Linked DNA regions of Homo sapiens: region 1 is linked to region 2. Evidence: promoter capture Hi-C in human tissues and cell types (Jung and others, 2019). All regions are on one chromosome and are shown on one strand. Each heading gives the region's core, a stretch centred on a gene start or on the middle of the fragment in contact. The rest is flanking DNA. Distances are from core to core; before and after follow the strand shown.

Region 1 (2,700 bases), core at 106-2,605, 85 kb before region 2:
TTGTTAACAATTTGTTTGCAGGCAGTATGCCTGGTAAAAGTCATCACCATTCTCCATTCTCGATTAACCAGGGACACAATGCACTGCAGAAGGCCGCAGGGACCTCTGCCCAAGAAAGCCTGGGTATTGTCCAGGTTTCACCCAACTGAGACAGCCTGAGATATGGCCTCATGGGAAGGGAAAGACCTTACAGTCCCCCAGCCTGACACCTGTAAATGGTCTGTGCTGAGGGAGATTAGTGAAAGAGGAAGGCCTCTTTGCAGTTGAGATAAGAGGAAAGCATCTGTCTCCTGCTCGTCGCTGGGAATGCAATGTCTCAGTGTAAAACCTGACCATACATTCTATTTACTAAGATAGGAGAAAACCGCCCTATGGCTGGAGGTGAGACATGCTGGCAGCAATACTGCTCTGCTACTCTTTACTGCTCTGAGATGTTTGTGTAAAGTTAAACATAAATCTGGCCTACGTGCACATCCAGGCACAGCACCTTTCATTAAACTTATTTATGACACAGATTCCTTTGCTCATATGTTTTCCTGCTGATTTGGTAATGGTTTCCCTACCATTACCCTATAGTCCTGCCACATCTCCCTCACCAAGATTGTAGAGATAGTGACCAATAAATACTGAGGGAACTCAGAGACCAGTGCTGGTGCAGGTCTCACTTGCTGAGTGCTGGTCCCCTGGGCCCACTTTTCTTCCTCTATACTTTGTCTCTGTGTCTTATTTCCTTTTCTCAGTCTCTCATCTCCACCTTGCGAGAAATACCCACAGGTGTGAAGGGGCAGGCCCCCTTCAGGTTTGCTAGTGTTTTGTTTAGGATTTTTGCATCAATATTTATTAGAGATATTGGCCTATGGCCTATGGCCTATGGTTTCTCTTCCTTTTTTGGTGGGTTTTTGTGTGGTTTTGATATCAAGATAATGCTGGCCTCTTTTAATGAGTTCAGTAATAGTCCCTCCTCTGTTTTTCTGAATAGTATCGGTAAGATTGGCATTAATTTTTTCTTAAATGTTCAGTAGAATTCAGCAGTGAAGGCATCAGGTCTTGGGCTTTTCTTTATGAGGAGACTTTATTGTGGCTTCTATTTTATTATTTATTATTGGACTGTTCAGGCTTTTAATTTCTTCCAGGTTCAATATCGATAGGTTGTAAGTATCCAGGAATTTGTTCATTTCATCTAGATTTTCCAATTTATTGGTGTATAGTTGCTCAGAGTAGCCACTAATAATTTTTTGAATTTCTGTGGTATCAGTTGTAATGTGTCTTTTTTTCATTTCTGATTTTATTTATCTATATCTTCTCTACTTTTTTCTTAGTCTGGCTAAGGTTTGCTAATTTTGTTTAAATTATCAGAAAAAACACTTTTTATTAATTTCATTTGTATCTGCTCTGATCTTTATTATTTATTTTCTTCTACTAATTTTAAGTTTGGTTTGCTCTTGCTTATCTAATTCTTTAAGATGCATCATTATATTGTTTATTTGAAGCTTTTCTCTTTTTTGATGTGGGGACTTAGAGCTATAAAATTCCGTCTTTATACTGCCCTGGCTGTATCCCATACATTTTGGTATGTTATGTTTTCATTATCATTTGTTTCAAGAAAACTTTTAATTTTCTTCTTAATTTCTTCATTGACCCACTGGTCATTCAGGTACATACTGTTTAATTTCTATGTATTTGGATAGTTTCCAAAACTCCTCTTGCTACCAATTTCTTGTTTTATTCCATTGTGGTCAAAGAAGTGGCTTGATATTATTTCAATTTTTTTTTTTTTTTGAGATGGAGTCTTGCTCTGTTGCCCAGGCTGCAGTGCAGTGGCGCCATCTCTGCTCACTGCAAGCTCCACCTCCCAGGTTCACACCATTCTCCTGCCTCAGCCTCCCGAGTAGCTGGGACTACAGGTGCCCACCACCACGCCCAGGCTAATTTTTTGTATTTTTAGTAGAGACGGGGTTTCACTGTGTTAGCCAGGATGGTCTTGATCTCCTGACCTCGTGATCCACTGGCCTCAGCCTCCCAAAGTGCTGGGATTACATATTTCAATTTTTTTTTAATGTTTCAAGACTGGTTTCATGACAACATATGGTCTATCTTTGAGAATGATCTATGTGCTGAGGACAACAGTGTGTATTCTGCAGCTAAACTGTGCTGGGGAAGAGGTCACCGTGAGACAGGAGACACTTCTCAGTGCCCAGGAAACACTTCCTGTTCTCCGTTCCCGTGACACAACATCTCACACCCACCACCCATACTACTCTTTCTGCTGTCACTACAAAGAGGTACTGAGTGAAGCCTGGACTCTATTCCCAGTTCCTTTTTGTCCACTTGCCTCTGCACATTTAGGTGCTAGGCTGAAGGTGAGCCCCTGATAAGGTCAGTGTCACCTTCTAAAATTCCACAAAAAATGAATTCCATACAGGTGATGAGGCCTATGACCTATTATCAAAATAGAAAAGTGAACAACACTGAGAGCAGAAAGGTGTAAGGAGGAGAGTGGACCTAAACTGAACCCAAGAGTGTCCAGTGAGAGAGGAGGGAATTTCATTCCATATGGGAATGAAACGTGGAAGAAAGGAATGAGGAGTAGCACTGGCTGTGTGTTGGCACCTCAGGTATCTGGGTGTTAGGTTGAATGCGGGTAGGAGAGGAGCATACCCATGAGTAAGGTTGGAGGTGAACAAACTGCGGCAATGAACA
Region 2 (2,700 bases), core at 137-2,636:
GGGAATGATTGATTTCTATGATGACTACAAGTAGATGAGATGATTTTTCTGTACTTTTGAGATAGGTTCTTGCTCTGTCACCCAGGCTGACATGCAGGGATGCAATCATGGTTCACTGAAACCTCAGACTCCTGGGCTGCAGTGAATCTCACACATCTGCTCCCTCTTGAATAGCTGGGAAGAAAGGTACCTGCCTCTCTGCCAGTCAAATATTTAAAGTTTTTTAAAGAAAGGGTCTCACTCTGATACCCAGACTGGTCTCAAACTTCTGGCCTCGTTATCCTCTCATCTTTGCCTCCAAAATTGGTGGGATTATAGCCATAAGCCAGTGAACCCAGCTGCTTGGTTGATTAATATCCACTGTAAGCTCCTTCTGAACTGAGACTTAACTTGTTCTTTCATGGGTGTAGAACAAGTTTAGTCTCAGTTCAGACAGAGCTTACAGTGGATATTTTGTGTGATTCAGTCTCTGAAATCACGGCCTCTAATGTCCTTCCCTAACAAACCAGTATCTGCACACCCTCCTGTCACACAGTGGGAAGAACTGGATGGGCTAGGGACAGGCAAGCTGAGCCTGGGAGGCAAGAGACAGTGGTCACTCTGTGCAGACCCCACCTGAGGAACCATCACCCCCATAGTCTGCATTCCTCTTCCCCACTCTTACTGGGAAGAGACATCTACTGATCATACATTCTGCTCTCACAAGTGATCTGAAATAAGTCCTTGGTAACTCACAATCCCCAAGATCCCCACCAGTTAAGCCACATGGGATTCACATCAGAGGTGCTGCTGTGTGGGGAGAAACATTCACATGTGAAGAAAGCCACATGCATGATCCCACTTCAACATACAGTCACATCCCAGCACACACACTCACAGTCACACAGAGCCACACCACTCACTGCGTCACACACACCTGCTCACTGTGCACATAACGATGCTCATGCACTGGTCTGGCTGTGCTCACACACATACTCACATCATAGACAGGAAACAAAGCCGACTCACCCCTTTACTCTCCATTCACACACCTGCTCGTCCTGGTGGGTAATCCACCTCCCACTTAAAGTCACATTATCTCCGCAGAGTTTATGCTCATCAGACACCACCTCACACTCACCGAAGGTTACACTGGTCCAGGGTCCACACCGCAATCCCCACAAGCATCTCAGATACCATAGCCTCAGGGTTTCTATTCCACACCTCAATAGCTCTAAGTAAAGCATTCACAGCAAAAATGCTCATATTTTCATCTCATAAAATCTCCCATTTCTTTCTTGGTTTGTGTGACACGAAATTTTTGAAGGCTGTGCCTTTTCAACTCACGGGTAAAGAAGACATTGTTCTCTCCTTCTTGGCGACCTTCAGAATTGAGTCCAGTCTTCTGAGTGAATCTCTGAGTTGCAGCATTTAAATGACCCACTTCAGCCTTGCCCTCGGGCTTCATTCCAGATTCCAAGCTCCTCCCAGCAAGATTTCCTTGCAGCTTTAGACAGGTTTAGTTGTTAGGAAGAAACTCAGTCACAACCATAGCTATTTGCAGGTCTGTATCTGTAATGCAGCAGAAGTGACAGTGGGGGAGTTACCAGGCTGTGGATTGGGTTACCAGGGAAATGCATAGATAAAGATGATGGAGTGAGCGGTAGTGGTTGTAAAGCCCAGCCTTTATGCCTCTCAAGCCTTTTCTCATCTATGCAGAATATACCCAGAAAGTGTACATTTTCCCAATTTGTACAACGGCTGAAAAGAAAAAAGTTGGAGATTTTGGGGAAATACATTAGCCCTAGAAGGTAATGATTCTCTCTGCTTTTGAACGTTCTGGGAGAGCACTGACCTTGATCCTCAGGAGGATCTGTGGAGAGAAGCAGAGAAATTTCTTGCATGAACCTATTCCACACTAGGCTGCTTGGCTCTGCCAGGTAAGGGCCACTCTCACCTGACTGTCACACACCTGGGCTCTAGCTACACCCTCTCCTTTCTCTTGGTGTCCATGTAAATAAAAGTTTCAGAGACACTGTTTCTCCTGCAGATTCTGGGAGGAAGGTGAGATTGTTGTTTTTATTTGATTTTTCTTTCATTTTATTTTAGGTTCGGGGTACATATGCAGATAAAGTCGTGTCATGGGATTTGTGGTGTATATGATTTCTTCACCTGGTTACTAAGTGTAGTACTCAAAAGTTATTTTTTTTCTCCTCTTCCACCTTTCATCCTCCACCCTCAAGGAGGCCCCAGTGTGTGTTGTTTCCCTCTTGATGTCCATGAGCCTCCTCATTTAGTTCACGCTGATAAGTGAGAACATGCAGTATTTGGTTTTCTGTTCCTGCATTAGTTTGCTAAGAATAATGGCCTCCAGTTCCATCCATGTTCCTGCAAAAGACATAATATCATTCTTTTTTAGGACTGCATAGTATTTCATTGTGTACATGTACCACATTTTCTGTAACCGATCTGTCATTGATTGGCATTTGGGTTCATTCTGTGTCTTCGCTATTGTGCATAGTGTTGCAATGAACATTCATGTGCATATGTCTTTATGGCAGAATGATTTCTTTTCTTCTGGGTATACACCCAGTGATGGGATTGCTGGGTTGAATGGTAGATCTATTGTTAGCTCTTTGAGGAATCACCACACTGCTTTCCACAATGGGTGAACTAATTTACACTGTCACCAACAATGTGTGAGTTCTCCCTTTTCTCCAC

The links. The method cuts DNA at HindIII sites, captures the fragments that hold promoters and counts their contacts. A contact is called where the count stands out against the background at its distance.
Region 1: a contact is called between a fragment that was not itself captured here and the fragment with the promoter of LGALS13 in region 2, in 2 of the 25 tissues and cell types used here (mesendoderm cells and neural progenitor cells).

The regions. Positions count from the first base shown.
Region 1 is chr19:39,686,447-39,689,146 of GRCh38, reverse strand. No RefSeq gene overlaps it. Among named protein-coding and RNA genes, the nearest start is that of LGALS14, 17 kb to the left of the region's middle. The HindIII fragment of the contact is 8,167 bases long and covers 1-2,700 here.
Region 2 is chr19:39,601,210-39,603,909 of GRCh38, reverse strand. LGALS13 (galectin 13) reads right to left here and starts at 1,386. Exons shown (of 4, transcript NM_013268.3): 1 at 1,327-1,386. The coding sequence starts at 1,341. The HindIII fragment of the contact is 10,640 bases long and covers 1-2,700 here.